Linked DNA regions of Homo sapiens: regions 2 and 3 are each linked to region 1. Evidence: promoter capture Hi-C in human tissues and cell types (Jung and others, 2019). All regions are on one chromosome and are shown on one strand. The core of a region is centred on a gene start or on the middle of the fragment in contact, and the rest is flanking DNA. Distances in the headings are between cores, read along the strand shown.

Region 1 (4,013 bases), core at 1-2,500:
AAAAGAAAAAATAAATAAAACCAAACCACAATTTAAAAACTTCCTCCACTTAATATAGAAAAGGGAAGTCACAAATTGGAAAGTGTAGTCAGGGCCTTGGGAAAGGGCTTGGATTCTGTATACCTTTTTTTCAGGTCTCCAACCTTTTCCTCACTCCCCACATTCCTTCGGATAAGGCTCACATTTAAACTGTTAGTCGTTACCCTGGAGAAAAAAATTCATCTTCTCCTCGCAGATAAACATATTCCCCAAAAAACAGTCCTACCTATAGACATGAAAAGCCACTAACCCATTTGGAAGTGTACCTTAATAGTTTTACATTCAGTGGAGGTGGCAGAAGGTGGCATGTTGATCTTTGTCTAACAAGCTCACCTCCTCCCTGCAATGACATGGCCTAGGTTCAGAGAAGTGAAGAAACTGGGTGTGCAAAGTTAAAAGATCCACAAAAGGCATGACCTCTGAACAGGTGAACATACCAAGAAAGACCTTAGTGGGCGGAGGTCAGGAAGAAGGGGTGTAATTCTTGCATGGAGGGTCAGAACAGAAGTAAAGCTTTCTGCAGTCTACTCTCCTTTTGTAGTCAGATAAATTCAGGCTAGATTCCTAATTTTCCACTTATTAGTTGAGTGACTTTGGGCAAATTAACTCACCTCCCTAACCTTCAGTTTTATCTGTAAACCTTATGATAGCAGTTTGCTCCCGTGAGGCTACATAAGGCACCTAATACACTTAGCAGAGCGCTTAGTACCTGGCAAACGCTCACTAATTGTAAGATATGATTGCTGTTAATAGCGTTCGCTGCTAGTGGCTGGCTCATAAGCGTTTTTTAAAAATCACCACTTCAATCCCCTTAGAACGTGCTTCCTTAGGTTAACGGCCCTTATTCTTCTGTGTCCCACGTCTCAACAGAGCCCCTTCCTCCTCCACCCAGGGGAGGCCCAACTGCACCAGGCCATTCCACTGCTTCAGGACGCAACTGTGCAGGTAGGACACCCTCACACCTTCCTACCTGTTCCCCGGGCCCAGGGCAGCACCCAGGCCGTCCCCGAGTCGACCCAGCACCTGGGCGCCGACCTGCGTCAGCAGCCTCCAACCCGGCATGGATTAGCCCGGGAAGACTCGACTCACGACTTCCGGGCGCCCTGCCGCTCTGCTTTCAGGGAGTCCCCACGCCACCGCCACGTGGACGCAGTAGCCGTGGGGAAGTTTTCGCAATGGCCGCCGGAACGGTCGCCGGCCGATGCTCTCTGCGACGGAAAGAAAGCCGCCGGACCCACTTCCGGTGCGTTTTACAATGAACTCCGGGCACTCGAGTCGCTCCCCGGAAACTATAGTTCTGCTTCCACCGTTGTCCTACTTTGGATGTGAGTTGGAGTAGGTAGGGGTGGGAAGGGACTGACTCGCCTCTCCAGGGGTAAAATAAAAGGGATGTTCAGAGTTTAAACTTTAGAAGAATAAGGACAGACTTCCTGAGGACGCTAAGGAAAATGAAGACACTTCTAAATAGTGCCCGTTGTGAGGCAATGCATTATGCTAAGCAGCGCTTCATAATCCTATATTTGTTAATCATAAAAAACGGTCCTGAAAGGAAGTATTTATTTTTCTATTATAAATGAGGAAACTGACTCAGAATTTAGGTGCTGGTCCAAAACAACACATCTGGCAGAGGAGCAGAGTTGGCACTGAAACAGGGTTGGCATGTGTTATCAATAGACTACACCCATAGAAATGATGTATGCCTTCTAGGGCTGGATCATAAAACATATTGTTACTTCAGTTTTTGTCTCTTGGATTGCTCCCTGTGGAGAAAGCTAGCCTTCATTTCCTGCAGACACTCAAACAGCTCTGCAGGGAGGAACATATAAAGAGGAATCAACTAGCCAGTCATGACTGAGCCACCTAGGAAGTGGATCCACCAGTCCTCGGCTGCAACTCATGGAGACGTTAAGCCTGAATCTCCCAGCCAGGCCGCTCATGAATTACTGACTAGGAGAAATTGCCAGAGAAAATAAATGATTACCGTTTTTTTGAGTCATTAAGCTTTAGGGTAATTTGTTATGCAATAATAGATAGCTAATACACCTGCACAAAAAATCCCCTGTCTTGGGTTCCAGATCTAGCCTAATAACCATGTATGTGACTAGGACATTTATTCTTCTACTAATTCCCTTATTTGTCAGATTACTGTTTGTAGAAATTTGGAAATAAGAACTTTAAAGTGTAGCTATTTCAACCTTCTCTTTTTACTAGAGATCTGGCTATCTTGGTTTAACAGGTCCAGACAATGGTCAATTCCTGGCCATTACTTGGACTTTAGTGGGCTAAAAAATCTTTGCTTTGCTTGTCCATTCATTCCACTCATTGCTGTTGCAGTTACCTTAGACACTTTTCAATAATACTTTGGACCTTGAAGGAAAAACTACATCTCTTCATTCTAGCCATGCTGCCTGGCTTCCCAGATACTTAAGGATGGCTCTTCATTGAACAAACATGTTTTGAGGTGTGCTACATGCAAGAAGTTGAGAATAAGAAGATTTCTGTACTACTGCCAATAACTAACATTTCTTATCCATATAGTGTGCTAGAGTATGTGCTCAGCATTGTGGAAGCCCATAAGCCAAGGCTACTAGAAGAAAACGTGAACTCATACAAAGTCAAGTTTAATTAGCTTGATGCAGCAAAAGACAGCATATGTCTGAGGATGTTTCCAAAAGAGTGACCTGGGAGGGGCTTGAAATGAAATTTGGACTTAAGGCTGAGTGATTTTAAAGTGGCATCAGAGAAGCAGGAACTTGTTTTAGAATGGGTGCTGTCAAGAAGAAAGGACAGTTCAGCAATTGGATATCTTGATAGTCTTTGTTCTAGAGACAGGAAGAACAGAGAGGAAGTGGGCATGATGTTCATAAGAAAGCAGGAATCACTCAGAATAAGGAACTGTTAGTCATTTTGCTGCAGTGGTGTGGCCTACAGTACGGTCTGTAAGAAATATTGTAATGATGGGCTGGGCGTGGTGGCTCAGCACTTTGGGATGCCAAGGCGGGTGGATCACGAGGTCAGGAGATTGAGACCATCCTGGCTGACATGGTGAAACCCCTTCTCTACTAAAAATACAAAAAAAAATTAGCCGGGCGTAGTGGCGGGTGCCTGTAGTCCCAGCTACTCAGGAGGCTGAGGCAGGAGAATGGTGTGAACCTGGGAGGCGCAGCTTGCAGTGAGCGAGATTGAGCCACTGCACTCCAGCCTGGGTGACAGAGCAAGACTCCGTCTCAAAAAAAAAAAAAAGAAATATTGTATTGATGTTCTGCTATAAACACTGCAGTCCAGTTACTAATAGTATTCATTTTTACTCTCTCAGTGTATTTTCTCACTTGATTGTTATGACAATCTGCTGTGACAATAGTATAATTATCTGGATCTTACAGTTAAGAAAATAGGCATACAGAGATTACATAACTTAAATAAAATCACCCAGCTATTAACTGGTAGAGCCAAAGACTGTGACCATAGATAGAGCTTATGCTTTTAGACATTTTGTTTCTTTGGCTCTCTATGACAAATATGTCACTACTCTTGCCTTGGAATTTCTTTAAGGCTAAAGAGGAAAATCGGTAAGTAATCACACGCAGTGGTCAGTGAGGATTGAAGAGGTAGCCATTTGGTCTAACCTTTTCCCATAGTACCAAATATCTCCTAGTCCATAAGGAGGACCTTGACAGCAGGCACCACCGCTGAACTGAATCAAAGTAAAACATGGTTTGTCTGCTGTCGTAAAAAATGTGTCTCCTGATTGCCAGCCAGGGCTGAGTGGTGTCATACTTGATTTAGTCACTGTAATATGCTGCTGACAGCTACTAGGCCCAGTTGTCAAGGGACCCAGCCTAGGCTTTTCTAGGGCAGTCAGGCACTGACCTAGAGCTTCCTGTTATTTCTGATGTCATCCTTCAGACACTGCCTTAGACCCTGAAACTGTAATGCCATTTTGCCTCTCTAAGATTTCAATTCCTTATTGGAAC
Region 2 (3,836 bases), core at 401-2,900, 160 kb before region 1:
CAATTCTCCTGCCTCAGCCTCCCGAGTAGCTGGGACTACAGGCACACGCCGCCATGCCCGGCTTATTTTTGTATTTTTAGTAGAGACGGGGTTTCACCATATTGGCCAGGATGGTCTTGATCTCCTGCCCTCGTGATCCACTGGCCTCGGCCTCCCAAAGTGTTGGGATTACAGGCATGAGCCACGGCGCCCAGCTGGTTTTTTTTTTTTTTTTTTTTTTTTTAATACTAAGTCTGGCAAGGATATGGAGCAACTAAGACTGTCATACACTGCTGGTGGGAATGCAAAATGGAACATCTGCTTTGGAAAACAGTTGAGTGGTTTCTTCACACTTGATCTTCACCAAACGGCTGAGAAGCAATAAGCAGTTTCTTATAAAGTTAAATATACACTTACCATACAACCCAGAAATTCCACTCCTAGGTATTTATCCAAGTCAAGTGAAAATATATGTCCACACAAAAACCTACATATGAATACATATAGCAACTTTATTCACAATCTTCAAAAACTAGGAACAACCCAAATATTGGTCAGCTATGAATGGATAAACCAACTGCAGCACATCCGTACAGTGAAACACTGATCAGCAATAAAAGGAACAAATTATAATACACACAGCAGTTTAGATGAATCTCAAAGATGCTATGTTAATTGAAAGGCACCAGTTCTTTAAAAGCTGCATTCTGAATGATTCCATTCATATGACATTCTGGAAAAGGCAAAACTGAAGGAACAAAAACAGGTCAGTTATCACCAAGGGGTGGAGGGAGGACTTGGTTACAAAAGGATATGAGGGAATTCTGGAGTGTGATGAAATTGCTCTGTATCTCAGTTGAGGTGTGAGTTAGATGGCTGAATGAGTTTATCCAAACTCATAGAGCTGTACATTCAAAAGAAGAAATTTTGTTATATATATTTTTTTATCAATTTAAAAAATATATAAAAAATAAAAGAGGGAATCCCAAAGATGAAATAAAAACAAAACATTCCTGGGACTTAACAGACTCTTTGAAAAACAAGTTTTCTTCTATTTTCCCCTCCTTTCCCTGAGAAAGAATTACTCATGATTGAAAGCCCTTAAAAAGAATTTGCTTACTCAGATATTATTTTTAAAAGGAGTGAAATTCATGACTCACAAAGTGTCTATTTTCTTCTGGCTTTTAAGTCATTTTTTACTTCATTTTTTCAACAAATAATTATCGATCACCTATAAGCAAAGAATGTCTTCCTGAGCTCTCACTTATAATTGAACATTTAGAGCTGAAGGAATCCTTAGAAATCAGTTAGTCTACATTGCAGATGAAGTAACTGAGGCTCTGAAAAGTGAAAGTCACTCACCCAGTGCCACCCAGAAAGTTGGTGGCAGAATCCCAGCCAGCACTTAGAGTGTCTAACGGGGCTTCGGTCTTTTCACTGTGCTCATCTTTGCAGCCCCTGAACCTTATCCTAAGAAGCTAACAGCTGCTTTGAGAAGTGATTTCTTCAGCTGTGTGAATGTACCCTTCACTGGTGGGATTTATAAAGTGTGATGGTGGGGGTACAGGGAAATATTTGGGACAAAGCATTGTATTCTGAGCTTCTGGAAACTCACTTCACAAGCTGCTTCCCTTCCCTAAGAGGAGTCCTTGTTTCTTACAGTAAACAGGAACAGGAACAGATTGCATGGAAGAATCATTAGTAGGCACCTGGAAGTGGCAAGATCCCTCTCCTGTTACTATCAAAGCTTTGTTTTTACCCAAGAGCAGTAAGAACCTTCTTGAACTGGTGTAGGTGGAGCTCTCTAATAATACCCCAAGATAATGAAAGACACTACTCCTGAAGTCATCCTTTAGGCTAATACATAAAAGGATGGATGACCAGAGGGTAAGAGCTGGTAAATCCCAAAGGCGTGAGCAATGCAAATTGAGGGACATTCTAGCATCCAGATCATTGAAGGAAACTAAAGAGACATGACAAGTAAATGGAACTCATGATTATTTTGAATGCTTTGTTATCAGGCAGTGTTATTGGACAATTGGGGGAAATCTGAATGTTTCCATATACAAGATAACAGAATCAGATCTATTAATGTGAATTTCCTGATTCTGGTGGCAGTTTTGTGGTTATGTAGAAGTGTTTTTATTCGTACAAAATACACACAAAGTATGAGTGGGGGACATTGGGGTAGCAACTTATTCTCAAAAGACTCAGGGACAAAATAGTTCTTTATACTATTCCTGTAACTTTTCTGTAAGTATGGGATTCAAAATTAAAATAATATTTAAAATATGAGGACATTTTAGATATTATCCTTATAAAACTAAGCAGCTATGGCTGTATTCTTTAGAGCCCTTATTAGATAGAGATAAATAATTAGAGGGTACACAGCATAGTCTATAATTGATGGGCAAATAAGTAGATGTGATAAAATGTATTTTTTTATAAATGAAAGGTAAGCACAGGAAGAGGTAATAAAGGAATTTGGAGGATGAGAGATTGAGTTTGGAGGAAATGGGCAGGGGAGAGAAGAAGAGCTTTCTTGGTGTTTAATAGTTTTTCATCAGCAAGGGAGTCAGCCAAACACGTATTCGGGATGTGACCCCAAGCAGTTCAAATTTTGGAACATTAGGGAACCTTCCTTCAGGACTCCTGTGTCAAGGGACCATTATCCAGCCCAACGAGCACTGTCCTGAGAGTCCTGAAACCTGGACTCTAGTCCCCTATTTGTCCCCAACTGCCAATTCAATCTTGGGCAAAACAACCTGTAAATGAAGTATTTGGACTAAAATGATGTTTGACAATCCCTAAAAAACTTAAAAGGCTTTTGTTTCTTGAAGAAAATGATAAAATTTAGAAAGGAAATGCACCATAGAAAGAAATAGAAAACAATGAAAATATAAATTCTTTTTATTTGAGATACCCAGCTAACTAAAGGAATAGTTCCTGCCACCCCATGTCCCTCTCTTTGAAAAAGGAAACATAGGAACTCTTTTAATTTGAACAGCACAGAGAATACTGCCCTCCCTTCTCACATCTTAGATAACAGCAAGAGAGTCCTCTTAAATTGAATTTCTATTTATGAATCTAAAAATTCAAATGCATCATTGCAGAATATAGTGTGTTTTCCAAATATCAGAATAAATTTACACGGCAATATTCCAAGACTAGAACACCTATAGCTTTTCTGTCAGCCTAAAATGAGTTTGTTTATGGAATGACTGATTTTGTTTTTGACCCGTAATTTATTTAGAATGTATTATTTTAAAATTTACTCACATGTGTAAATGTTTAATCTTTATTTTTATTACAGATTTCTAACAATTTTATTGTGGTCAGACACTAGATTTTATATGAAACCAATTATTCAGCATTTATTGAGGGTTAAATTGTCTAGCACATGGTCAGTTTTCGCAAATGTTACATGAGAGCCTGGGAAGAATGTCTTGCTCTATGTGTATCTATTAAGTTCAGCTTATTAAGTATGTTATTCAGATATTTTCTATCATTACTAATATTTTGAATGCTTCACTTATCAATAACTGAGCAAGGTATATTAAAATCCAGCATTGTGAGAATATATCTGACAGTTTCTCTTTGTAGTCCTCTATGTATTTTGATTCTGTTTTATTAGATGCATGCTCATTTAGAATTCTTTTTTTCTTCTTTGTGAATTGAATTATTATGTAGTGACTTTCTTTATCTCTAATAATGCTTTTTTAACTTAAAATGTATTTTTATCATATTAATATGGCTACCCTAGATTTCTTTTGGTTATTATTTGCCTGGTAGCTTTGTCAAAAATTATTTTACTTTCAATCTTTCAATGCCATCATGTTATGGGTATATTTCTTGTA
Region 3 (3,568 bases), core at 627-3,126, 220 kb after region 1:
GGGAGAAATTTCTTTTAGTGATAAGTGGCATGAAGCAAGGTAAGCACAAATGAACAAGCAAATATATATGCTTGCCATCTCTTTGTCAGGTAGACTCTTCCTGACAAATCCTTAAACCTGACCCTTACCTTGACAGGAGGTGAACCCAGATTTTGTGGGTCTTAAGACATATAATTTGGAATCTCTCTTTGAGAAAAAAAGTACAAAATAAAAATGTGACACAGAGCCATGGAAGGGGCCCACATGAGAGAGGGGATCTGATGTTAAAGCTTCATCAATTTCACAGTAAATCAGCATCTTGATTCAGTCAGGGAAAGTGGTCTCTTCCCACCCCATACCCCCCCACGTTTGTTCTGACCCCTATGAGTTGCTTATATTGCTTTCTTACTTGGAAGTCTCCCCTCCTCTTTCTTCTGCAATCCCTAGATAATGTTTTTTTCAGATTTTGGTGCCACAATGCCTTCTTTGACTCTACCCAGTAGAAAAAAGCTCTCTCTTCCTTTAAGGTCTACGACCTTGTATAGAGAGCCCAGGGTATTTTGTAATGAACTGCTCTATTTGAAGTGCATATTACTATGCCTTCTCCAGTAAGATTATCCACTATCTGGGCACAGGGACTGTTTTTACTTTTTGACTCACTTACTGCATTTCTGGGTACAACAAAAAGGAAAGGAAAAAAGGAAAAGTATTACAGAAGCAAAATGATGAAGTTTAGAGTCAGGAAGACCTAGTAGAGTCCTAACACTGCTACTTATTAGGTAGAGCCTTCATCAAATCACTTAACCTCTCTGAGTCTCAGGTTTCTCACTGATAAAATGGATATAATACTGATATTTATTTCATATTATTGTTGGAAAATTAAGAGCTTTTATTCATTCACTGAGTATCCATTTAGCCTCTGCCTTGGGCTATTTTTGGTACCAGAGATGTCGACTAAATGTGAATGAGAAATACTTGCTGCATAGGGGTTCTCACAGCTGAGTTGGAGATGGAAATTTATAGTGAAACAGGATAAGGCTATAACAGACATGTGAAAAGAGCATAGTGCCAGACACATAAGTGCTCAATAATAGTTGTTGAATAAATGAGTGACACAGTGGGGGAATTCAGAAGAGAAAGTTCTGAATTTTTCAAAATAAGAAATCGTACAGACTTGCAGAATCATCTCTACATAAACATAATGGATATGACACCACCTGGGAAGTTGTAAAATGCTGCATGTTAAAGAAAATACAATCAATAGGAAAAAGCAAGGATTAGATGAAGGAAGAGAGGGAAAGGGGGCAGGAAGAAAGGCCCTAGGATGGCAAGGAGGAGGAAGGGATGTCTGTTGACCCACCTGGCCAAGTGTGCACTCCATGCCACCAAGGAAGTCGGCCTCCTTCAGCCCATTGTGGTTGCTGCTGATGTCATGGACTTCAAACCGCAGGCGCTGCACCTCCTCAAAGTAAAAGTCCACAGTAAACAGTTTTGAGTACACTGGGTTTATGCAGGTGCGAATCACCTCAGTCCTGTCAACCTGCAAGGAGAAAGAGAAAACCTATCAGAGATAAGGATTATTTTTATTATTACCGTTCAAGAAAATTCATCTCAGAGCACTTCCCTTCTTCCCAACCATAAATGCTCCCCAGCAAGTCATTGGGTGGGCAGTCCAAAAGTACAAAGTACAGGCAATACCTTCAGAGAATGAGACGAGTTTTAGGGAAGAAAATAATGTTAGACATGTAAATAACTTGAAGATTTAGAGCTCATTGTATGAGTTTGCATTATACAAAATTGTATCATTATATCATTATGTCATTTTGTTGATGGGAAAACTGAGGTCCAGGGAATTGAAATGAGTGGGTGAACATTATGAACAGTAAAAATTTTTGAGTACACTGGGTTTATGCAGGTGCATAAATGATTGATTGATGCATTTCATGATTGATTCAACCTTGTCCTGCCTAATGTGCCTGAGGTCACATCTAGGCTCAGGAGGAAAGAAATCTGTAATTGATTAGTGATGTCTGGTGGGCACAGTAATGGAGAAAGTGCTATGTAGGTGTCTCATTTTAGCCAACTCTAAGTTTCCTAATCCATGATTTCCAGCATAATGAAGTAGAAAAACCATGAGAATAGATAAGACAATAACTGCCTTTGGTCTCGAGTATGCCCTTTATTAAGTGTATAATGTTCACCCATTCATTTCAATTCCCTGGGCCTCAGTTTTCTCATCAACAAAATGAAAATTAGATTAGAGGTTGAAAAGTTCCTTTCTGCTCTAACATTCCATGAGCTATGATTTCCTTTGTCTTCTGTGATAATAGTTTTTCAGTTGTCCCCCTCTCTCAGATATTAATACATCTCTGCCACTTTCTGCACTATTCTGTGACATAGGAGACTGATGTCTATGGATTGATTTTCCTGGCACCCTTGCCCTCTGGGTTCTGGTTGGAGTCAGCCAAATGGAGGACTTCGCAGGAGATCAGAGAATGGGAGAACAGAGAGGTGCAGGCATGCCTCTATACACACACATTCTGCTAGCAGACTTCCTTCTGCACAGGGAGCTTTTGCTGGGATTTGGTAACATAGTGCCTCTCTCTTGTCCCTTCACATTGAGGGGTAGTAATGGCTTCCTGTTGTTGCTATCTCTGATGTCTCGGATGCCTCACTTTCTTTCTTGGCTCTTTTAACCCTGCCCATTCCCGTGTACAGAGTTTAGTCCTTTAGGTTAAACTGTTTGGGTATGCCATCTGTTTTCTACTAGGATCCTTATCGCTAAGGCTCTTTTCCTACATACTTGTCACAAGTAAAAATATACAAAACCATTTATATTTTGGGAAGCTTTTAAAGACTAAGTTATAGATAACCCAAGATTCTATAGCATCCCTGTACTAGAGATACCCATCCTTCCTATTTTACAAATCAACTGGAACCTCTATGTACTGTCAGCTTTCAAATAGAAATATGGTTTATTGGATGTTTTCTGACATTTGTTAGCACAAACTATGAAAAGCATTTATCTCACTTTCATATGAGTAAAGGAAAATAGTCTCTCAATAAAGGGAAAGCAGTTCTTAACCATATTATGCATGTCCATGTTGCCTAGCAAAGAAAATCTGATATTTGTTCTAGCCACCCCTAACATTCTTCAGTTCAGTGCTTTGTCTCCAGCCCTAGCCCTTCCTATGCAGGGATGTATGTGAGAGAAAATTGTCCTTTAAGGAACACTACCTGCCATTATTGGTTGGATGGACAATCCGGGTTGCAAGGAGAAGAGTATGATTCTGATTATGTCCCCATCCAATAAATAGGCATACAGAAAACCAATCTCCAGCCCATTGCTGACTAGAATTTTACAAGTTACTGTTCTGACCAAAGGTTATCTGCCTGTTCCAGCTTCCCCAGGAAGACCCAGCTTCTATTTGAGCTAAATTTTATATTCTTATATGATGTTCATTCAGAGGGTGATGGGACTGATTATGCCACTGGCCATTTGTGCAGGTACAAGAATTTACTATATCAGCATAATTTTTCTGTTGTTCAGGGATAATAGTTTTGAATAATAGAAATTAGAGATCATAAA

The links. The method cuts DNA at HindIII sites, captures the fragments that hold promoters and counts their contacts. A contact is called where the count stands out against the background at its distance.
Region 2: a fragment that was not itself captured here is called in contact with the fragment with the promoter of MRPL3 in region 1 in 2 of the 25 tissues and cell types used here (hippocampus and stomach).
Region 3: a contact is called between a fragment that was not itself captured here and the fragment with the promoter of MRPL3 in region 1, in 1 of the 25 tissues and cell types used here (aorta).

What each region holds. Positions count from the first base shown.
Region 1 is chr3:131,501,721-131,505,733 of GRCh38, forward strand. MRPL3 (mitochondrial ribosomal protein L3) reads right to left here and starts at 1,251. Exons shown (of 10, transcript NM_007208.4): 1 at 1,010-1,251. The coding sequence starts at 1,101. LOC105374114 (a long non-coding RNA gene) reads left to right here and starts at 879. Exons shown (of 3, transcript NR_189111.1): 1 at 879-984. RefSeq lists enhancers at 887-1,573, 1,080-1,149. The HindIII fragment of the contact is 5,057 bases long and covers 1-4,013 here.
Region 2 is chr3:131,338,069-131,341,904 of GRCh38, forward strand. The region is part of intron 17 of NEK11 (NIMA related kinase 11); the gene reads left to right. The region is part of intron 2 of NUDT16-DT (NUDT16 divergent transcript); the gene reads right to left. Among named protein-coding and RNA genes, the nearest start is that of NUDT16-DT, 41 kb to the right of the region's middle. The HindIII fragment of the contact is 4,382 bases long and covers 1-3,836 here.
Region 3 is chr3:131,722,107-131,725,674 of GRCh38, forward strand. It overlaps CPNE4 (copine 4), which reads right to left. Exons shown (of 16, transcript NM_130808.3): 3 at 1,340-1,519. Among named protein-coding and RNA genes, the nearest start is that of MRPL3, 220 kb to the left of the region's middle. The HindIII fragment of the contact is 4,257 bases long and covers 1-3,568 here.